6 separate regions of the Homo sapiens genome follow, and all the other regions are linked to region 6. The links are contacts of gene promoters, found by promoter capture Hi-C in blood cells and fetal thymus (Javierre and others, 2016). All regions are on one chromosome and are shown on one strand. The core of a region is centred on a gene start or on the middle of the fragment in contact, and the rest is flanking DNA. Distances in the headings are between cores, read along the strand shown.

Region 1 (3,698 bases), core at 462-2,961, 280 kb after region 6:
AAGACCAGCCTGGGCAACATAGGTAAACCTCACCTCTACAAAAGAAATTGTTTTAATTAACTGAGTGTGGTGGCACACTCAGTGAGCTATGATCATACCACCGCACTTCAGCCTGGGCAACAGAGTGAGACCCTGTCTCAAAAAACAACAAAAAAAATTATTTCTCCCAGTTCTGGAGGCTGGGAATTCCAAGATCAAGGTGCTGGCCAGTTTGGTTTCTGGCTTGTAGAAAACAGCTTTCTCACTGTGTCCTCACATGACCTTTCTCCTGGATGCAAGTGGGGAGACAGCAAGAGAGCTCTGCTGTCTCTTTTGCTTCCTAAACGGGAATGAGCTCTGTGTGATTAGGGCCCTACCCTTATGACCTCATTTAAGCTTTATCACCTCCTCACAGGCTGCTAGAATATGAACGTCCCCTCCAAGTCTCATGTTGAACTGTAATCACCACTGTGAAGGTGTCAAGAGGTGGGACTGTTAAGAGGTGATTAATGTTGTTATCATGCAGATTGGTCAGTCATCACAAAAGTAGCTTTGTTATAAAAGCAAATTTGGCCCCCTCTTGCTCGCTTGCTTTCTACGTCTCTTGCTCTTTGCCTTCTGGCATGGGATGATACAGCACCAAGGCCTGTGCCAGATGCTGGTGCTATGCTCTTGGACTTGCCGGGCTCTAGAACTGTGAGCCAAATAAATTTCTTTTCATTATAAATTATCTAGTCTGTGGAATTCTGTCATAGCAACATAAAATGGACTAAGACACAGACTGTGTGTCTCCAAATACAGTGCAGTTACATCATGAATGAAGAGTTCAACATATGAATTTGTGGATGGGGAGCCCAGTGGGGACACAGCATTCAGTCCCTAACATATAATAAACATACTAAGTTCCTAATTTCACAGGTATAGGATGAGGCTAAGTTTTAAAAGTTTTTAAGTTATATTTTAAAAATTAACAAAGAATAATGCAAATCTAGGCTGGGCAGTGGCTCGCGCCTGTAATCCCAGCACTTTGGGAGGCCAAGGCAGGCAGATCACCTGCGGTCAGGAGATCGAGACCAGGCTGGGCAACATGATGAAACCCCATCCCTACTAAAAATACAAAAATTAGCTGGGCGTGGTGGCAGGTGCCTGTAATCCCAGCTACTCAGGAGGCTGAGGCAGGAGAATCGCTTGAACCCCAGAGGCAGTGGTGACAGTGAGCTAAGATTCCGCCACTGGACTCCAGCCTGGGTGACAGAGTGAGACTCCATCTCAAAAAAAAAAAAAAAAAAAAAAGAAGAAGAATGATGCAAATCTATAATCTTTTATTTGAAAATTTTAAATCCAAAAAGCTCCAAAAACCTGAAGTATATTTGTATGTTTTACACAAATTCACTTGGTAAAACCTGACCTAGCTGACATGAAGCTGTTTGTAAGTCGTTATTTCTTCCACTTTTGCACATCCCCACTTAGTTCTGCAAAAGTTCTCACCCTGATTCTCATTGGCTCAAATTAGTTCTCAGCCTGATTCTCATTGGCTCAAACTCAATCATCTACATACCCCAAACCAACAGTAGTTGTTTAGATGGCTTACTCTGATTGGCCATGACTAAATCTGGACCAATCGCTGTAGCTTGGTGGGGGATAGGAGGAGTGCTATTATTGGCTAGATTTTATCACAGGCCCACCTTTAGAGCCCCGCCCGGAACACCTGGAGGGAGAGGGCACACGGAGTAGTTTGAGTTCTTAAGGAAACGTCAGGGTGTTCTTCTGGGAGGGGTGATGGGGGACACTGGGCTGGCAAAAACAACAGGTGGTTCACCTCTTTTTGCCCCCCTTTGCTGTCTTTCAGGGGACTTGTATACCCAGGCAGCAGAGGCAGCGATGGAAGCCATGAAGGGCCGACTGGCCAACCAGTACTACCAAAAGGCTGAAGAGGCCTGGGCCCAGATGGAGGAGTAACCAGGAAAATCACTGCCGGCTAGTCCCAAGCAAACGGGCTAGGAGGAAAGATTAAAAAAACAACAACAACAACTTATTTAGTTTGGGGAGGGGAAGCATTTTTAAGTGTGTTGTAAAATCAAATTTTATATTTCATTTTTTGACTCTTGAAAAATGTCTTTGCTCCTTGGCAGCTACCAGCAGAGACTCTATAGCTGTCTCTTAGGGCAGTATTTTGGGGAAGTGGGGCTTGAAGAAGCAGCCTAATGAACCAACATACCGTTTTGTGTGTGGTTTTTTTTGTTTGTTTGTTTGTTTGTTTTGAGACAGAGTCTTGCTCTGTCACCCAGGCTGGAGTGCAGTGACATGATCTTAGCTCACTGCAACCTCCGCCTCCTGGGTTCAAGTGATTCTCCTGCCTCAGCCTCCCAAGTAGCTGGGATTACTGGTGCACACCACCACACTCAGCTAATTTTTGCATTTTTAGTAGAGATGGGGTTTCACCATGTTGGCCAGGCTGGTCTCGAACTCCTAACCTCAGGTGATCCACCTGCCTCAGCCTCCCAAAGTGCTGGGATTACAGGTGTGAGCCACCATGCCTGCCCATTTTGTGGTTCTATTTTCATTTTTATTTCTTTTTTTTTTTTTGTCACGAGATATAAGAAAGTGCTTTTTGCCTTGAATGGACAATTTTAGGGCTGTGCTCACTAGTCTTTTCAGGCTGGACTGAAATGTCGGGCCCATGGAGCCCTGTGTTTTGTGCATCGGGATGAGAAATGAAGCACTTCACGCTGGCTTTCCTAAGTCACGGGGCGTGTATTGCCGTGGCTTAGTGCAAAGCATTCTTTCTCAGAGCATTTAGAGGCATGCGTGGCATTTTTTCAGTGGGTGTGAGATTGCACAATACCCAGGCTCCCTTCTACTGTGGGGAAGGGCCTGCATGTTGGCTGTTTTTTAAACTTCTAGTTCAATTTCCTTCCATAATGCTACTGATTTTCTGGCATACAGCCGAATTCCATCTTTTAAGCATGCTTTCTACGGTGGGCTTTTCAAAACAGGTTTGAGTTTTGTATGCACACGTTTACTACCTCTAACTCCTACATCAGCTAGTGTGGAAGAGGGTGCACCTCAAAGCTTTTACACGTAAGGACAGCGGCTTGGAATGTGAGAGCCTTTTCTCCAAGCAGACCCACACTCTGCATCTCAGTGGCAGCTCCCACAACGTGACTGCAATGTCTCTTATACAGTATTCCTTGGTGTTTTCTTAGTGTCTGGATGTTCTTACGTGAAATCTGCTCCCCAGCCCTGGTCCTTGGCATTTTCTGCTTGAAGCTGGGCTGATTTTCTTGTAATTTACAGCAGGACGCTTTCAGCAGCAGTCTCTTGGGATTTTATCTAAGATGTTTGAGGATGAGAGGGCAAGAACTATAAACACTCATTAATTCTAGTAGTCTCCCCATGGCCAGACAATGGCGATTGTTATTTAATGAGCTTTTCCTTTCAATGGAATTCAGCTCTCACATTAGTATGATTTCATTTGATGTTTCAAATAGCAAAGATGCTAGGTGCGGTGGCTCCCGCCTGTAATCTCAGCACTTTGAGGAGGGCCAAGGTGGGAGGATTGCTTGAGCTCAGGACTTCAAGACCAGCCTGGGTAAACATGGCGAGACCCTGTCTCTACCAAAACAACAAAAAAAAGACAGACTGCTTTGATCAACCCTAAATGCAAAAGCAGCCTATTTTTCTTTGTTTAAAAGTCAAAACATAAAAAAGCAGAGTAT
Region 2 (3,679 bases), core at 836-3,335, 360 kb before region 6:
ACAAACTGACGTTGATTGTAGGATTTATAGTAATCCTAACACAATGGTATACATCTCCCTTCTTATACACATAGCCAAAAGGTATTCTTTTTTAATAACTTTAGCCCTTTTTGAAGATTTTAAGGCGGCTTTTAGTTTCTTCATCAACCCATTTTTGTTCTTAAAGACTGTTCTTAAGGCTTTCGTAGATAACAGTAATATCTCGCCCTCCACCTGCCCACACCTCACCCCTACAGCAGAAAGATAGCATAGTGGATGGCTCTCTTCTTAATCCCATGCTACTGGGCTTTAAAGAGAAAACAGCAAACTATGTCCCCTGGCTAATAATTTCAGTGATGAGAATGTATGATGCCTTCTTCCAAAGACCTCTTCTGCAGGTGGTGTTCCCTGCAGATGCACAGGAAAATGTTAATTAGGGAGCTCTTGCTGAGGCCCATAACTTGTGGAGAGATAGAAATTATTTTTCTTTTGATAATATTCAAGGATATAGGGACATTCCATGCAAGAGGATTTGACTTACTTTGGAGAGGAGTATGAAGGCCACGCACACACCGGTCACATAGACAGAGAGCAGTGATACAAGAGCTGTCAGGAAGCTCCGCAGTTCCTTGCTGAGCAGCTTAATTTCTTAATGACAAAAACAGAAAGAAGCACATTGACTATTAAAGCCTATTCTTTCAAATACATGTGTAAAGTATCCTTCACACTGCGTTTTAGAGGTGAAACGTGAACTTACTCTGCTTGCCTATTCGTATAAAAACTAGACCTCAAAAGGTACTCAAGTATGTAATAGTTAAAGCCAGTTCATCAGTTCTTTAAATGTGTTAAACCAAAAATGTTACTCGTTTTTAAACATTAAAAAAATTCAACCAACCATTTGTCATATTGCTAAGCATCACTTTTTAGATAAAGGATTATTTGAAGTTAGATAAACATTTCCAGACAGTTTGTTCAAGGGCATCTAAAATCTCTTTTGGTAGAAACGGTTTACCAGTATCATCAAGAGTCTGCCTATGTGGTTAAGATATTTTCATATGTATTTGTTAAGGGTGATATTTATAGCCTTGGAACTAGTACACATAGCTGAAGAGTCCCATCTGTGAAAGAACCTGGGAAGGCCATACATTGAGGAGCGCAGTGCTCACTGCGTGCTTGAAAGACAGGCACTTTTGCCAAATGTGCTCTTCTTTCTTTATGATAAAATTCTGGAAATAGAGTTATTGAATCCATTTTCACATTCGGAATTTCTCTCTCCTTGCAGAAATTGTCTTGTGCTCTGGGTAGGGATTAAGTAACATGCCATGTCTTCAATTACCTGACTATTTGGAGTACAAAATACAATTAGATTTGTACTTACTGTCTGAATAGCCTGTACTTTCCAACTAAATATCCCATAGATGAGACTGAGTGTGATGGCTCATGCCTGTAATCCCAGCACTTTGAGAGGCCGAGGTGGGCAGATCACTTGAGATCAGGAGTTTGACACCAGCCTGGCCAACATGGCGAAACCCCATCTCTACTAAAAATACCAAAATTAGCTGGGCGTGGTCGCACATGCCTGTAATCCCAGCTACTCAGGAGGTTGAGGCAGGAGAATCGCTTGAACCCGGAAGGTGGAGGTTGGTTGCAGTGAGCTGAGATCACGCCACGGCACTCCAGCCCGGGCGACAGAGCAAGACTCTTGTCTTAAAAAAAAAGAAAGAAAAATCCCATAGATGCTTATCCTGTGAATGCAGTTTATGCAGCATACATTTTTATTTGTGAAACTAACAAATTAACCACATCTATACAACTAAAATAAAAAAGCTTCAGTGTGAAAATAGGAGTTCTGTAGAAGAGACAGGAAGTTGCCATGTCTGCCTTAACACTTTCAATTCTGCCTTTCACTTTCACTTCACTTTATATAAGCCTTGCAGCTTTGAGACCTTCATCTTTTTACAAGCCATTTTTCCCTTTGACTAACATGTTTTTAGAAGGCTAATGCAGTGAGACATACAAATCTCTAAAGCTGTGTGTGTTTTCATATCAGTAGCTAACATTTGTTATTTGCTATATGCCAGGCACTATTAAAAATGCTTTAAGTGCCTTAACTTATTTATAATTTAGCTGACAGATGAGAATAAACTAAGGTTAAATGACATTTGAATATCAAAAGCCCATTAGAACCCTCGTAGTTTAAAAGCACAGGTTATAATACTGGATGGTCTCCCTTCCTCAGAGTCCTATTTTGAAATCGAAGGGCTGGTTGATTTTGAGTTCATGTTTTAACAATCTCTGCTCATCATACCAGGGTCCTTCCTAAGGGAAGAGACCCCAACAAGGCGAGGAGTTGCTGCTGTTCTCTTTTTTCCTTCAGAATCATGTAAAGCTTTTTCTCTGAAATTCCCCCTTTTTTTTTCTCGGGAATGTCTTAATCTCAGTTTACTCAAGGGAATGACTTGGTGAAATTACTGATAGGATTTAGCTATGTTTGATGTCCTCGCTCGGCTGAGGAATTGTCATGGGTTTTATCAAATCTCAGGAAGTGAGAGTCATCACTTTCCGTTCACTGATGTCCAGGCAGAATGGGAAGGGTCAGGGATCCCTGAGTAGCTTCTCTCCAAATCTGTGCTTATTCTCCATGTTGCATAGTTTCTGTGGGTCCAATTTATTGATCTTTTACACTTCTCTAGTGCTTTGTTCTAGGTGGTGCATTACCAGACTAGTTCCTGAGAAAGCTGATAGTTACTCACCACAAGGTTCCCTTTGGACATGGTACTTTACACTAAATCACTGTAATATACAAAAGAGGTGAACATGGTTGGTTAAACATCACCATGTAGGGAGAATAGAGCACCCAGCAAATCACTGACTTTGTGTTAGTGGATGTTCGAGATGGATTGGAGTAGTTCTTTTGTTTTTCTGAGATGGAGTCTTGCTTTGTTGCCCAGACTGGAGTGCAGTAGTGCGATCTCGGTTCACTGCAACCTTCGCCTCCTGGGTTACAAGCGATTCTCCTGCCTCAACCTCCCAAGCAGCTGGGACTACAGGTGCATGCCACCATGCGCGGCTAATTTTTGTATTTTGAGTAGAGATGGGGTTTCACCATGTTGGCCAGGCTAGTCTTGAACTCCTGACCTCAAGTGATTCGTCCACCTCAGCCTCAAAGTGCTGGGATTACAGGTGTGAGCCACCACGCCCAGCCAGTTGGAGTAGTTCTTTAGTCCAAACCTCATGGTGACTTGTGTTCAGATCACACCCATCACTGGCTAGGGTATTAACTTAGCAAATTTATCTCCTGATTTCTACATGTGAGTGAGGTAATGATTTTACAGGCCTGAACAAGATGCAATGATGCACTGAAATAAAGCCTCGCTGACTGACCTCTTACCACCAGTGTGGTCCCTCCTCCTGTCTGTTTAGCTCTCGCTTCCGGCACACTGGGGAATGCTATTCCACAGATGTAAATTGCACTGTCATTTGAAGTCACTCTGTTTACAGTGAGGGAAACTTGGTTTTCTTTGAGGGCCTCCCTCACTGTGAACTTGTCTGCCTCACTTTTGCACCCGTCCAAGCACAGGTTCTCAGGCTGGTGAGCACCGTAGCGAAACCACAGGCATGTTGGTTGCTCAGAAGGGCATCCGGTTGCGGAGAAGGTACACTTTATGGTGACGGCCTCATGAGTGTAGTCCACTTCTAG
Region 3 (3,924 bases), core at 94-2,593, 260 kb after region 6:
TAAAAATACAAAAATTAGCCGAGTATGGTGGCAGTTTCCTGTAATCCCAGCTACTCAGGAGGCTGAGGCACGAGAATTTCTTGAACCCAGGAGGCGGAGGTTGCAGTGAGCAGAGGTCGCACCACTGCACTCCAACCTGGGCGACAGAGCGAGACTCAGTCTCAAAAAAAAAAAAAAAGAAATACTTCTTAGTAGAGGCGGGGTGTGGTGGCTCACACCTGTAATCCCAGCACTATGGGAGGCTGAGGCAGGCAGACCACTTGAGGCCAGGAGTTTAAGACCAGTCTGGCCAACATGATGAAACCTCATCCCTACAAAAAATATAAAAATTAGCCAGGCATGGTGGCATGTGCCTGTAATTCCAGCTACTTAGGAGGCTGAGGCAAGAGAATTGCTTGAACCTGGGAGGTGGAGGTTGCAGTGAGCTGAGATCACGCCACTGCACTACAGCCTGGGTGACAACGTGAGACCCTGCCACACACACACACACACACACACACACACACACACAGAAAAGATACTTCTTAGAAGAATAAAGAAGGAAATAAAACTATTCCGTTACTAATTGTGCAGGTGACATGCAGAGAGAGCTATAATTCAATGTTGGTAGGTACATGGCTGAAGTTTTAGAGATTCTAAATTATACCAGATTCGCTTTCAGAACAGAACTCAGACCTGGGAGAATAAAAAATATGCCCAACTAGGCCAGGCACGGTGGCTCACGCCTGTAATCCCAACACTTTGGGAGTCCAAGGCAGGCGGATCACAAGTTCAGGAGTTTGAGACCAGCCTGGCCAATATGGTGAAACCTCGTCTCTACTAAAAATACAAAAATTAGCCAGGCGTGGTGGCAGGCGCCTGTAGTCCCAGCTACTTGGGAGGTTAAGACAGGACAATCACTTCAGCTCAAGAGGTAGAGGTTGCAGTGAGCTGAGATCGTGCCACTGCACTCCAGCCAGTGTGACAGAGCGAGACTCCATCTCAAAAAAAAAATAAAAATGTGTGGTTTTGGTTGAGGGCTTATTTGTATTAAATATTGTTCCCAATGCTATATTTTTGTCCGTGGGTCATAGCCCTTAACCAGCCTTTGTTTTTCTGCCTGTGAAGTGGGTGAGTCACTCTCAGTAAAGCACTTCCTGTGATCCACACTCTCAGAATGTAACAGTGCATTTCACCCACACAGCCCTTCGATGTAGGGGCTATAATGAATCCCATAACTAAGGACACTGATGCTCAGAGAAGTTAAGCAACTGCCCAAGGTCTCAGCTGGCAAGAAATAAAGCCAGGATTTGAGCCCAGGTCATTTGGCTGTAGAGCCCAAGGTCCTTACTGTTACCTTATACTGCTCCCTCGTTGGCCAGGCAGGTCTTGAACTTGTGTCCTCAAGTGATCTGCCTGCCTCGGCCTCCCAAAGTGCTGGGATTACAGGCATGAGCCACCACACCCGGCAAGGGACAGCAGGAGCAGGGTGTTAGGTAATGGGACAGAGGGGAGAAAGCTAACAGTTGGGGTGTTGAGATGTCATAACCATTTCCAGGTGCTCAGGGGACCACCAGGACCCTAAGGCCGTCTTCTCTCCACAGGAGTCTGAGAATAGTGGGGACAGCGGATACCCCAGTGAGAAGCGGGGTGAGCTGGATGACCCTGAGCCCCGAGAACATGTAAGGAACCCCCAGGAAATGAGACCGGTGTCACCTGTTGCCTTGTTTATCCTCCAGGAAAATGAAAACTCCCCTTCCTGGAGGGGGAATATGAGTGGGTCCTGAGAAGATAACAAGTAAATTAATAAAGAGTATTTCAGGCCGGTCATGGTGGCTCACGCCTGTAATCCCAGCACTTTGGGAGGCCAAGGCGGGTGGATCACCTGACATCAGGAGTTCGAGACCAGCCTGGCCAACATGGTGAAACCCCGTCTCTACTAACAATACAAAAATTAGCCTGGCATGGTGGTGCATGCCTGTAATCCCAGCTACTGGGGAAGCTGAGGCAGGAGAATCACTTTAACCCAGAAGACAGAGGTTGCAGTGAGCCAAGATTGTGCCACTGCACTCCAGCCTGGGTGACACAGTGAACTTTGTCTCAAAATAAAATAAAATAAAGAGTATTTCAGATAAAGATAAATGCAAAGAAGATAAAACAGGATCATGTGGACCAGTAACGGGGCAAGTGTGGAGGCTTAGATATAAGGCTGATAATGGCTGACAAATCTTATGGTGAAGTGGGAGTCCTGGGCTGCTGAGCAGAGAGGATCCTGGGTAATAGCTGGACCCACTCATAGGCAGGATCCTGTGAGGCCCCAGGGAGGAGGGCCTTGGAGGTCAGTTTCCTTGGGTAGCCTCCCAGCAGCATCCTGGTGAGGGCAACCTCAGACAGTATCTGCCATTTAGAGGTCTTACCCTGTGCTGAAATGGAGCCTGCACATCAAGGCCAGTCTTGCCAGGACACCTCTGATCTCAGCTTTATGATTGTGAATAAAGAACATGCTGGCCGGGCGTGGTGGCTTATGCCTGTAATCCCAGCACTTTGGGAGGCCGGGGCAGGCAGATCACTTGAGGCCAGAAGTTCAAGACCAGCCTGGCCAACGTGGTGACCCCATCTCAACTCAAAATACAAAAATTAGCCGGGTGCAGTGGTGCACTCCTCTAGTCCCAGCTACTCAGGAAGCCGAGGCATGAGAATCACTTGAGCCTGGGAGGTGGAGGTTGCAGTGAGCCAAGGTCATGCCGCTGCACTCCAGCCTGGACCACAGAGTGAGACTGTCTCAAAAAAAAAAAAAAAAAAAAAAAAAAAAGTAAAACAGCTGGGCCTGGTGGCTCACCTGCAATTCCAGCACTTTAGGAGGGCAATGTGAGAGGATTGCTTGAACCTGGGGAGTTGGAGGCAGCAGTGAGCTTTGATCACACTGCTGCACTCCAGCCTGGGCAACAGAGCAAGACCCATGTCTAAATTAAAATATAAACTAAACATGCAGTAGGAGCTCTGCCCGTTACCCCAGTGGCTTTGTGTTGGGATCCTGCACCATCAAGTCAGTTCCACCTGCTCACACACGGAGGGGGACAGCAAGGCTGTGACTGCACCAGCGTTGTCATCCCTGCCTGTGACCCAGCATCCCTTCTGCTTGGCAGAGAAGGGTTCCAGTGTCACCTGGGAACATAGGGCCAATTTTCTGAGATAAGGGTCACCTAGGAGGGCCAGGCTGGTTCCAGGGAGGAGGGCTGGACCAGCTCTCAGGAGAGGTTCCTGGGAAGAAGCTTGTCGCTTTGGATCAGTGTAATTTCTTCCTCCGTTCAGGGCCACTCATACAGTAATCGGAAGTACGAGTCTGACGAAGACAGCCTGGGCAGCTCTGGACGGGTAATGCGCCCTGAGGCACCCTTGTCTCTGCCTCTTCCCTGTCTCCTCCAGGCTCTGTTGCTGTTTCTCCTGTCTCATATCTCTGCTGCCTGCCCATCTGTCTTGCACATGTGCTAAAGGAAGATTTTGCAAAGCAGCAAATCTGGGCAAATGCTCTTTGAACCTCTGCAGGGCAGGATGCTGGGGGATTTGTGGGGAGGATTAGAGAAGAGCAGCTCAGCCCCATCCTGGAGGGGAAATCACCACAGGGACAGCTCCTGTCTTAAGTGCCTGCCATGAAGGCACTTCGCAGTAATCAGTTTCCTTCTTGCAACCACCCAGAGAGACAGGCTAATGTGACTCTCATCCCCATTTTATGTATGAGAAAACTGGGCTCTTAAGCAACTTTCCCCAGGTTACCCTCGCTTGTATGTCTAACAAGCATCAGCAAGTCTGGGAAAGACCAGCTCTGTGCCCCACCCACCCCTCTAAGTGATTCCCTCACACGCTTTGAACTGCCCATCTTTGGAGCCTTTACTAAGGCAAGTCTCTTTCCTACCTGCAAAGTCCTTTCTCTCCCTCTGTCATCTC
Region 4 (3,913 bases), core at 1,384-3,883, 420 kb after region 6:
TAACACAGTGAAACCCCATCTCTACTAAAAATACAAAAAAAATTAGCCAGGCATGGCGGCAGGTGCCTGTAGTCCCAGCTACTCGGGAGGCTGAGTCAGGAGAATGGCGTGAACCCGGGAGGCAGAGCTTGCAGTGAGCCAAGATTGCGCCACTGCACTCCAGCCTGGGTGACAGAGCCAGACTCTGTCTCAAAAAAAAAAAAAAAAATTAGCCGGGAGTGGTGGCACATGCCCATAGTCCCAGCTACTTGGGAGGCTGAGGTAGGAGTATCACTTGAGCCCAGGAATTCGAGGCTGTTGTGAGCTATGATCTCACTACTGTACTCCAGCCTGGGCAACAGAGTGAGAGCCTGTGTCACAATCAATCAATCAGTCATTAGGCTGGGCTCTGTGACTCATGTCTGTAATCCCAGAACTTTGGGAGGCTGAGGCAGGCAGATCACCTGAGGTCAGGAGTTTGAGACCACCCTGGCCAACATGGTGGAACCCTGTCTCTACTAAAAATACAAAAATTAGCCGGGCGAGGTGGTGCGTGCCTATAATCCCAGCTACTCAGCAGGCTGAGGCAAGAGAATCATTGGAACCCGGGAGGCAGAAGTCACAGTGAGCCAAGATCACGCCACTGCACTCCAGCCTGGGCAATAGAGCGAGACTCTGTCTCAAATAAATAAATAAATAAATAAATAAATAAATAAATAAAATTAAAACCCTGGTGGCTAAAAGAGGACAGGAACAGAATCTGGAATAGAAAAGACCCAAAGCCCTGTATTTCCTGTTATAGCTTATTTGCTGATAGATGTCAGAGCAATGGAGGAATGGCAAGTGTGTTTTTAACCTATCTCTCTGAATTTTCTTTGTATTCTCAAAGAACACGAAGGCCCTAAAGCAATAGTTCTCAACCTTGTTGCACATTAGAATCACTTGGAGCCTGAAAAAGTCCTGATGCCCAGACCATACCCTAGACCAGTTAAATCAGAATGTCTGGGGCGTGAGATCCAGGCATATGTGTTTTTTTAAAATATAAAACAATACTTCATTTCCTTTATTACCTAGTTGTATCGTTAAAATAAGAACAAATACAGTGGAATGGAATACTTCATATGACTTCATGTGAAAAATACTTCATTATACAATAAACAACCCTCATGCATTTCAACATTGCCACCAGTAACACTAAAGACTCCCAGTTCTATTCATATGTGATCATCACTGCCCTACACCCCAACCCCAGCTCCTCCAAGCTTCAACAGGCATCAGTATTTTTCGTAGCCCCTGGCTTATTCCATCATGCAGCCAATGTGGGAATCTAGAGATTGACTTCCTTGGAAACAGAGGCTCTAGAGACTAATTCTTATTGGCTCAGCTATAGACACGTTGGCAGCCAGACACGTTGGCACACTAGTCTCATGGTACTATAAGCATTTTTTAGAGGTATAAACTCAAACAGCACACTCAAGTGTCATTTATCTTTGAGTGATAATTTAACAGTTGGCATTTGGTGGCCCCACATAGCTAATGCTAATCTGAAAGTGTCCAACTGAAGTCCACAGGTTAATTGCACACTTAGCAGGATATGGTGTGATGATCAGAGAATTCTTTGAGATTCACCAGTGTAAAGAATTTAGCAAAAATGTGGCTGGGCATGGTGGCTCTCGCCTGTCATTGGATCCCTTGAGTCCAGGAGTTCAAGGCCAGACTGGGCAACATGGTAAGACCCTGTCTCTACAAAAAATACACAAATTAGCCACATGTGGTGGTGCACACCTGTAGTTCCAGCTACTCAGGAGGCTGAGGCAAGAGAATTTCTTGAGAATTTCTTGAGCCCATCAACAGGTTTTGAATGTTCCAGTCTTTTTTTTTTTTTTTTTTTTTTTTTTTTTTGAGTCAGGGGTCTCATTCTGTCACCCAGGCTGGAGTGCAGTGGTGCGATCATGGCTCACTGCAGCCTCAACCTCCTGGGCGCAAGCCATCCTCCCCTCTCTGCCTCCTGAGTAGCTGGGACAACCATGCCCGGCTAATTTTTTTTACAAGACCACTGTTAAAAGCCCGGAAGAATCCTGCAGCTCGCTGTGGTGGGCTGTTTTGCGTGTGCTAGAGTCTATTCAGCATTTCAGACAGAAAAGCCTCAGCATTCCTCTTCTGTGGGTCTCCACCGTAGCTCCTTTGAAATCTCTGCTTTCTCACACTTTCCCATCTGAGTCTTTGTGCCATGGCCGTCCCCTCCTCTCCAATACGAAGAGCCCACACTCAGTTTCCCTCCCTCCTCCTCCATCCCACACTGCCCGAGCACCTCACCTCCCAATGACTGACTCGTCCCCGGTCTTGCACACACCTGGGGAGTGTAGCTGGCCTGTCCTGCACACCAGCCTTGCAGGCTCAGTGAGTAGACCATCCTTGTCTGCTCTTGCCGGGTGCAGCTGTGTGTAGTGGCCCAAGGGGGGGTCATCTGGGAGGGCACCAGGAAGCATAAGTGACATGCACCATGAGGAAGCGTAAGTGATGTCCACCACAAGAGGTGTGGGGAGCGGCAGCAGCGCGTTCATCCACTGTGCTTGACTTTGTTTATTTCCCCGATGACCTTTTCCCGGACTTCCTAGCTGGATCTCCGTGAGTGCCAGGGCTGGGTCTGGGAAGGGTTTGGGACCCAGCACATCACCTGGCACAGTCAGTGTTTGCTCAATATTTGCTGAGAGAAAACCCCAGCCATGTCACCGACTTACAATAGGAGCTTCTCGTACGGAGCAGAAATGTGTTGTTGCCTGTGGCTTTGCAGGAGCTCCGAGCAGTGGCGAGAGGAAGTCATGGGTGACCATGGTAGGCATTACCGCCTGATGGGGTTGCTGGCTGGTCCTGAGCTCATCACCGTCCATCTCCTGCATCCACAGTGATTTCTATTAAGTGCAGCTTTTCGTCAGGCAACCACCAACGGCACTGAGGGGTGGGATGATGGCAAATTGACCAAAACGCTCAGGGGGTGCTAGCCACGCGGCGGGTGCAGATGTGGACTCCCCAGCCCCACGAGCTTGGAGTGCCATTCAGCCCCGCTGCACCCCCGTCTGTCTCCAAGGCGGAGGAACTGGGGTGGGAGGAGGAGGCACAGAGCTGTCTGAACACAGCTAGAGCCACTCACTGGCCCCTGCAGGGGAGCAACGCAGTGGGGAAGCCTGGAGGGAGGGAAGGTGCAGTTGCAGTGGGTGGGCACGGGGGCTCAGCTACTGGCACAGAGAAACACAAGGGAACTACGAAAGAGCAGGAGGGAGGACGCGGGGGTGGGCGCAGGGCTGGAGGACCGGGTGGTCCACAAGGTGGTCAGGACCTCAGCTGGTGGCTGGGCTTGGGAGGGGCTGGCATGGAGTCACGGGCCACCATCCCCTAAGTGTTTCCATAGGCAAGGTTCTCATTCCCCTAGTCAGGGGAGGGGACGGGTACAGAGAAGCGCAGCAATGAGCCAGGAACAGAGCTGAGATGAAACCTCAGCCTCCCGTCTTCAGAATGAGAATTAATCCACAGAGGAGCTAAGGAAAATGCCGGGCACCGAGTTGACGGGTGAGGGGTGTGAGCCATGTGGCCGGCATGGCCGCCCCACCACCAGCTCCATCCTGAGCACTTCACAGACATGGCCCTCTTCATCCACACAACTGCCCCAGGAGCCACTGAATGAGGCTCGATGAAACCTCAACTCGCGTTGCAGCGCACGTCTGATCACACTCGCCTTTGATCACTTTTATCACTGGGGATCCTGCAGTCAGGGCTTTGTGTCTGCAGCGGTCCCTGGGAAACAATCTACAACTCGAAGCTCCACCAAACTCACTCAGAGTCACAAAATTTCTATCACTGACTGCTTTCCTCCAAGGCCCAAACTGGATTTATAAACTTCCAAAGAAAACTTCATATTGAAAAAGCGATGTACCCA
Region 5 (3,807 bases), core at 871-3,370, 390 kb before region 6:
AGGGTGCCTGTCACTGTACACATTGAAATCTCACATAAAGAGGTTATTGGGTTGAGTTTATATTGTTTGTGGGAAAATGGTGAATGGTCTGAATATTTACGCCTATGCTGTGCTTAAATGCAAGGTGTGCATGGTGAAATGTCTGGACTGAGTTGACTGCATTGTAAAATCTTAGAATGTGAATTTTGAATCCTTAGCTGTCAAGCTCTGTTGATGGAGTTGGTCTGGCCAACTTAGAAAAGATTCTGTGTTCATAGATCCTGAGCAGTGGAGCTTTTCTGATTGTTTTTGGTAGCCCTGAATGCCTTGGGTCTTTGATTACCCATTTCTTTTGAGAATGGCTGGATGCCTAGACCTACAGTTTGGTTTTTAGGCATTCCCTTGAACTGTACTTCTCCTCTGACCAGCCCTTGCCTTGGAGAGAAAGGGGAAGGAAATATGAAGAGCTACTGGCCTTCTATTGTGTGCCAGGCACTTCAAATATATTATCCCCAGTAGTCCACATAGAACTCTTGGAGGTTGGTGGTATCATCCGCACTTTACATACAGAAAAGTGAGGGTGAGAGAGAGAAGAGACTTGCTCACCAGCACAGAGTTAATGGATGATAGAGTTGGGCTTTGCACCCAGCTTTGGTTTCAAGGCAACACATTTTCTGCTGCTTTATGATGCCCCTCCTGGTAAACCTTGTGTTGTCTGAGGGGTGGTAAAAATAGGCTTGCCTTCTTTTTTTTTTTTTTTTTTTTTTTTTTTTTTTTTTTTTTTGAGAAACAAGTTCTTACTCTGTCACCCAAGTTGGAATGCAGTGGCCTGATCATATCTCACTGCAGCCTCAAACTCCTGGCCTCAGTACATCCTCCTGCCTCGGCCTCCTGAGTAGCTTCTAAATCTTTTGTAGAGGCAGGGTCTTGCCATGTTGTTCAGGCTGGTCTCAAACTCCTGGCCTCAAGCAGTCCTCCTGCCTCAGTCTCCCAAAGTGCTGGGATTACAGGCGTGAGCCACTGCTCCTGGCCTAGGCTTGCCTTCTGAATAGGAAACTGCCCTCATTCTAGTGAGGCCTCTGTGTAGACACTGAAGTTAGGTAGCTGTGTGCACAATACTTGTTGAAGATTTTGTAGTTTGTGAATTAGATGAGAATAAGACAGCTGCTTGAAGTTCTGGCCTTTATCTGGTTTGTGCATGCTTTTTTTAAGGCTTAAAGTTGAAAAAAGATTCTTACATGTATTGTCATTTTTTCCTGACATCAGCCATTCTCTAATTTTCCATCACCAAGTGGGTGTTTAATTGTTCAATCCTGTTCTGACATTAACTACCTGGAGTTAGGGTCACGCTTTACAGAGTTAAGAGCTCAGTCCCACAAGACTGCCCTCACTTCAGAGGCCAGCTGGAAGTCCTGGGTTCCCAGGCTGCCAGTGCTTTTGTCCACCTTGAACAAATTTGGGAGTTCCCACAACTCTACCTTCACCCTACCCCACCCCACCCCCTAATTTCCTATAATAGAATGACTCATAGAACTTAGGAAAACACAGGTGCGGTGGCTCACGCCTGTAATCCCGGCACTATGGGAGGCTGAGGTGGGTGGATCACGAGGTCAGGAGATCAAGACCATCCCGGCTAACAGGGTGAAACCTGGTCTCTACTAAAAATACAAAAAAATTAGCTGGGCGTGGTGGCACGTGCCTGTAATCCCAGCTACTGGGGAGGCTGAGGCAGGAGAATCGCTTGAACCGTGGAGGCGGAGGTTGCAGTGAGCTGAGATTGCGCCACTGCACTCCAGCCTGAGCGACAGAGCGAGACTCCGTCTCAAAATAATAATAATAATAATAATAAACCACTTAGGTTTACTGGTTTATTACAAAGGATACAATTGGGGAACGGCCAAGTGGAAGAGGTGCATAGGGTGAGGTGTGGGAGGTGGTGTAGAGTTTCTCTTTCCTCTGATGAGCCACCCAACCATCATATCAATGTATTCAGCAAACTAAAAGCTCCCAGGACCCCATAGTTTAGGGGTGTCATTACATAGGCATGATTAGACTCAGTCTTCAACTCCTTTCTCATCCTTGGAGATTGGAAGGTGGGGCTGAAAGTTTGAACCTTATACCCACATCCTGGTCCCCATCCTGAAGCTGTCTGGGTCTCCCACCCCTATCAGGAGTCATCCTGTTAGCATACAAAAGATACTCTTATTACCCTGAGATTCCCGAAGGGTTTTAGGAACTCTCTATCAGGAACCTGGGACAAAGATCAAATATGTATTTTTTATTATACCACATCATCTAAAATCAGTCAGTTTTTAAAATTACTTTCTGACTCTGCTAGTGTGCTTAAATCCTTTGTATTTTGGGAATGTTGTATTTTGGATATGTTGTATATCACATGTTTGATTAGTTGATAAACTCCAAAAATAATTTCAGAAAAACTTTTAACCATATTTGGTCTGATTAGCAAATCTAATTTTATAGGAAAATTGCATTCCTACTTTGAACGAGTGATTCATCAACCAAGGTTATATATAAATATTAGGAGGAGTTCATGGGCTTAATGAGAAATTTTTTTTTTTTTTTTGACAGTCTTGCTTTGTCGCCCAGGCTGGAGTGCAGTGGCACACTCTGGGCTCACTACAACCTCTGCCTCTCTGGTTCAAGTGATTCTTTTGCCTTAGCCTCCCAAGTAGCTGGAATTATAGGTTCCTGCCACCACGCCTGGCTAATTTTTGTATTTTTAGTAGAGACGGGGTTTCACCATGTTGGCCAGGCTGGTCTTGAACTCTTGACTTCAAGTGATCTGCCCACCTGGGCCTCCAAATTGCTGGGATTACAGGTGTGAGCCATCGTAGCCAGCCAGGAAATTTTTAAGACAGTATGACCTAATATTTAATAACTTCGGTTGGCGAATACTGTCAGACATGCATTCAAAACGCGTGGCAGCCACCTGATTTGGCTGTTTACTGCCTGGCCAATTATTAGTATCTTTGCAGTTGTGTTGCCAGTAGGGAGAATATTGCTATTTACTGTAATTTTTAGATATCACATCCTGTTCTGTACTTGGCATCAGCAGATGACTGAATGGAATCATTCTCATTTGATTAGAATTTGTCATTTAAAAGATTCCCTTGTTTATTTAGATGAAACAACATTTGAGTGAGCTTTAAAGGCAGATGCTAATAAGATGCTTTTTCAGACATGGTAGGCTCCAGCCAAGGAGTCCAGCCTCACAGTAGAGTGGGCGTGTAGTCCTGTCAGTGTGTGAATTTAACGGGCATAGTACTTTGTTCTTGCCTGTGCACCTTTGTCTCTGTAGTCTTTAAGGAGCACACATTTAAAGAACTCACCTGCGGCTGGGCGCAGCGGCTCACGCCTGTAATCCTAGCACTTTGCGAGGCCGAGGCAGGCAGATCACCTGAGGTCAGGAGATCAAGACCAGCCTGGCCAACATGGTGAAACCCCATCTCTACTAAAAATACAAAAATTAGCCAGGCGGGGTGGTAGGTGCCTGTAATCCCAGCTGCTTGGGAGGCTCAGGCGAGAGAATCACTTGAACCCGGCAGGCAGAGGTTGCAGAGAGCCTAGATCACACCACTGCACTCCATCCTGGGCGACAGAGCAAGACTCCGTCTCAAAAAAAACAAAGAACTCACCTGCTTGAAAGTACACAGGAGCATACAGACAAGCCACCCAGTGCTGCGAGCTTAGCGTAGCTTTTTATCTAAGCTGGTTGTTTGGAGAGAGGTGAAACCAGGAGTCCTGCCCATTGGGTTAAAGGGGTTCCTGCAGATTTTTTCTCTCCTTGGTCCTTGGTATTTCACCTTA
Region 6 (3,687 bases), core at 374-2,873:
CTTCCCAAGGACAAGCAGTCCAAATGACAACAGCCCTGCAGTGAAAAAGCCTAAGGCTGTCTGGCACCTGCCTGCCTAGTTCAGCCTCTTTGCCAACCTCAAGTCTTATCAAATCCTGATGCTGTGCGGAAAAAAGCCATAAAGAACAAGAATTGCTCAGTGCAGGAGTCTGCATCCTTCAGTAAGCCCACCTGGGGGCTAGCAGAAGTATAAAGTGATTAGAGCCTGGGCAACATAGTGACACCTCATCTCTTCTATTTAGGCTGGGCATGGTGGCTCACACCTGTAATCCCAGCACTTTGGGAGGCCGAGGGTGGGCGGATCACTTGGGGTCAGGAGTTCGAGACCAGCCTGGCCAGCATGGTGAAACACCGTTGCTACTGAAAACACAAAAATCAGCCAGGCGTGGTGGTTCACGCCTGTAATCCAAGCTACTCTGGAGGCTGAGGGGCAAGAATCGCTTGAACCCGCCTGGAAGGCGGGGGTTGCAGTAAGCCAAGATCATGCCGCTGCACTCTAGCCTGGGTCACAGAGCAAGACTCTGTCTCAAAAAAAAAAAAAAAATTAGCTGAATGTGGTGGTGCATGCCTACAGTCCCAGCTATGGGAGGCTGATGCAGGAGGATTGCTTGAGCCCAAGAATTGGAGGCTGCAGTGAGCCAGGAGCATACCACTGCACTCCAGCCTGAGCGACAGAACAAGACTCTGTCTCTAAAAATAAAATACAGTGACCCATATGCTATTTTAAGATTTATGTGCCCTTTTAATAAAAATGAAAGGGCCAAAGTCCCTATTTACATTGGTATAATTTTTTAAAGGCTCCTTACTATGTGATTTCATTTTTATGATGTTCTCCATGGAAAAGGCAAAAAAAAAAAAACGCTGTAAAAAACAGATGGGGGTGTGAGGAGCTGCAGTGGGGTGGGGTTTGGCTGCAACTGGGCATTGCAAAGTAATTTTAGGGAGTGGTGGAACTGTTCCCTATCTTGATGGAGGGGGTGGTTCAACGTGGGTATAGCTTGTCAAAACGGTAGCTGTACTTTTAAAAGGGGGGATCTTACTGCATGGAAATTATACCTTGATAAAAATAACGATGGCCAAGGCGGGCGGATCACTTGAGGTCAGGAGTTTGAGACCAGCCTGGCCAACATGGTGAAATCCCATCTCTACTAAAAATAAAAAATTAGCTGGGCATGGTGGCAGGCACCTGTAATCCCAGCTACTCGGGAGGCTAAGGCAGAGGAATCACTTGAGCCTGGGAGGCAGAGGTTGCAGTGAGCTGAGATCGCGCCACTGCACTCCAGCCTGGGGGACAAAGCAAGACTCCTTCTCAAATGATGATGATGATGATGATGATGATGATGATGATGATGATGATGATGATAATGATGATGATGATAACAACAACGATGGAGAGAGGTTATCTCCCAGGCCAAGAGTGCACCGTTGCCATTTTACAGAGGAGGAACATTGACGAAGGCTTGGTCCCCAGGGCTTCTTCACCCGCTTCCTTCTCCCCAGTTACCTTTTTTGTTTTTGTGGGAGGCCTTCTGCATGGTCCCGGGAGGTCAGGCAGCCCGGGAGGGCCTCCCGGAGCAGAGGCTGGAGTCAGTCCCAATGCCAACAGTTTCGAACCTTGCCCGCGGGCACTGCCCTCGGGATGGCCGCCAGGGGGCGCTGCGCCGCCACTGCCCAGAAATTGGGCGGCAGTGAGGTCGCCGCAAGGCTTCCCGTGGACCCTGCAAAACGTGGCGTGGGCATTGCACACCATTGTACTGTATGGAAACTTCTGCAGAGGTTAGCACCGTGCCTGACCCACGGTGGTTTCTTCATTCCTTCTTTTCTTTTTCTTTTTTTAAGAGACGGGCAGGGGGTGGGGGTCTCACTATGTTGCTCAGGCTCAACACAACTGTTGCACTATGGGCTCAAGCGATCTGCCCGCCTCAGCCTCCCAAAGTGCTGGGATTACAGGCATGAGCCACCGCGCTTGGCTTCTTCATTCATTCTTGGTGAACCTAAGAAATAGGGAGGGGGAGAAGGCACAGAGGAGGGTGTCTCAAAGATGTGAGGTGGTCTGCAGAGGAAGATCACAGCCAGAAGATCACAGGAGATCACAGAATACCTAGAAGATCAGAGAATCCCCCGCTGCACTTCTAATAATGGTATTTTAAAAAAATTGTTACATCAGTAGCTCCAATGCTTTGGAACTGCACTTTTTTTCATGAATGTTTTGAATAAGAAAAGGCCCCAGGGTGGCCTAAAAAAAAATGAGTCACTATTAGGAGAGGCACTATTAATGCTTCCTTCTTTTTTCCAAGATAATTCTTCCTCCCACACACATTCACTCATACAACAAGTATTTACAGGGAGCTGTTCTGTCATTTACTGATACTGGGGACACAACAGTAAGCAAGACAAACACAGAAACACAGGCTCTATCCTCTTGAAACCTGTACTTAAAAAACAGATGAAGTGGACAATTTTAGGAAAATATAAATTATTAAAAATAAATTCTAGGCCAGGTGTGGTGTCTAACACCTGTAATCCTAGGTACTCAGGAGACTGAGGCAGGAGGACTGCTTGAGCCCAGGAGTTTGAGATCAGCCTGGGCAACATAGTGAGACCCTTTCTCTATAAAAAAAATTTAAAAATTAGCTGGGCATGGTGGTGCACATCTGTAGTCCTAGCTACTCAGGAGGCTGAGATGGGAGGATCACTTGAGCCCAGGATTCAAGGCTGCAGTGAGCTATGATTGAGTCACCACCTTCCAGCCTGGGTGATGGAGCAAGATCCTGTCTCAAAAAATAAAAATGAATAAATGAGTTAGTAAATTCTAGAAGAAAGAGAAAACCTAATGAGGTAGGCCCTGGTGTTATCCCCGGTCTGATGAAACTGAGAGGCTAAGCACCTTGCCCCATCCCTTCAACAAACAGTCATTAACCACCTATTAGGTGTCAGGCACTGTGCAAAGATTTCCATGGTAGATCTGGTTATGTCCAAGCTTATTCTGTTGTTTCTGTGGCTCTACACAGACAATAAGCCAGGGCAGATTCCTCTTTAGGTTCCTTTTTTTTTTTTTTTTTTTTGAGATGGGGTCTCATTCTGTCACCCAGGCTGGAGTGCAGTGACAAAATCTCAGCTCACTGCAACCTCCGCCTTCCAGGCCCAAGCGATCCTTCCACCTCAGCCACCAGAGTAGCTGGGACCACAAGCCTGTGTCACCACGCCCAGCTAATTTTTGTATTTTTAGTAGAGACAGGGTTTTGCCATGTTGGCCAGACTGGTCTCCAACTCCTGAGCTCAGGGTGATCCACCCGCCTTGGCCTCCCAAAGTGCTGGGATTACAGGCGTGAGCGCCAGGACAGATTTCTCATTAGATAAAACCTGTGTCGTAGAGACCAGTACAAAGGGCTATTCTCCACCTCAAGTCTCCTGTGGGTGACTTCTTGTGACAGGTCACCTTTCCTCTTCCAAACAGTCTGGCAGGGGTCTACATAGATACCAACTTAATTCTATCATAAAATACATCTTTTTCCTCCATCTTCCTACCAGCAGGGGAAGGGTAAGAGTTTGTGGGAATAGAGCCCATCAGCATATATGGTTCTGTGATGGAGCATATCAGTGCCTGGCCTCCCCTTAGTCTTCCCTCCACCCCAGGCTAAAAAGTGTCTTTAAAGCGGAGGTCTCT

What was found. Contacts are between HindIII fragments. The CHiCAGO score rates a contact against its expected background, and 5 or more counts as called.
Region 1: a contact is called between a fragment that was not itself captured here and the fragment with the promoter of PDZD9 in region 6, in 11 of 17 cell types (total CD8 T cells, naive CD8 T cells, neutrophils and 8 more). The highest score is 23.2, in total CD8 T cells.
Region 2: a contact is called between a fragment that was not itself captured here and the fragment with the promoter of PDZD9 in region 6, in 1 of 17 cell types (fetal thymus). The highest score is 5.3, in fetal thymus.
Region 3: a fragment that was not itself captured here is called in contact with the fragment with the promoter of PDZD9 in region 6 in 8 of 17 cell types (total CD8 T cells, naive CD8 T cells, neutrophils and 5 more); the score reaches 10.7 in total CD8 T cells.
Region 4: a contact is called between a fragment that was not itself captured here and the fragment with the promoter of PDZD9 in region 6, in 1 of 17 cell types (naive CD8 T cells). The highest score is 5.2, in naive CD8 T cells.
Region 5: a fragment that was not itself captured here is called in contact with the fragment with the promoter of PDZD9 in region 6 in 1 of 17 cell types (neutrophils); the score reaches 5.5 in neutrophils.

The regions. Positions count from the first base shown.
Region 1 is chr16:22,282,059-22,285,756 of GRCh38, forward strand. It overlaps EEF2K (eukaryotic elongation factor 2 kinase), which reads left to right. Exons shown (of 18, transcript NM_013302.5): 18 at 1,829-3,698. The coding sequence ends at 1,938. Among named protein-coding and RNA genes, the nearest start is that of TRL-AAG2-4, 13 kb to the right of the region's middle. RefSeq lists an enhancer at 230-524. The HindIII fragment of the contact is 2,676 bases long and covers 374-3,049 here.
Region 2 is chr16:21,643,770-21,647,448 of GRCh38, forward strand. All of the region lies in intron 4 of METTL9 (methyltransferase 9, His-X-His N1(pi)-histidine), which reads left to right. It overlaps IGSF6 (immunoglobulin superfamily member 6), which reads right to left. Exons shown (of 6, transcript NM_005849.4): 2 at 3,364-3,679; 3 at 521-627. It overlaps LOC124903663 (a long non-coding RNA gene), which reads left to right and starts at 627. Exons shown (of 2, transcript XR_007065025.1): 1 at 627-1,407; 2 at 3,163-3,679. RefSeq lists an enhancer at 1,777-1,956. The HindIII fragment of the contact is 562 bases long and covers 1,805-2,366 here.
Region 3 is chr16:22,261,527-22,265,450 of GRCh38, forward strand. It overlaps EEF2K (eukaryotic elongation factor 2 kinase), which reads left to right. Exons shown (of 18, transcript NM_013302.5): 12 at 1,584-1,661; 13 at 3,292-3,354. Among named protein-coding and RNA genes, the nearest start is that of TRL-AAG2-4, 34 kb to the right of the region's middle. The HindIII fragment of the contact is 3,812 bases long and covers 1-3,249 here.
Region 4 is chr16:22,417,664-22,421,576 of GRCh38, forward strand. It overlaps the pseudogene RRN3P3. Among named protein-coding and RNA genes, the nearest start is that of CDR2-DT, 45 kb to the left of the region's middle. The HindIII fragment of the contact is 2,788 bases long and covers 1,240-3,913 here.
Region 5 is chr16:21,604,534-21,608,340 of GRCh38, forward strand. The region is part of intron 1 of METTL9 (methyltransferase 9, His-X-His N1(pi)-histidine); the gene reads left to right. Among named protein-coding and RNA genes, the nearest start is that of METTL9, 6.9 kb to the left of the region's middle. The HindIII fragment of the contact is 4,521 bases long and covers 1-3,807 here.
Region 6 is chr16:21,999,493-22,003,179 of GRCh38, forward strand. PDZD9 (PDZ domain containing 9) reads right to left here and starts at 1,624. Exons shown (of 4, transcript NM_001363519.1): 1 at 1,525-1,624. The coding sequence starts at 1,555. RefSeq lists an enhancer at 1,770-1,819. The HindIII fragment of the contact is 4,622 bases long and covers 1-2,998 here.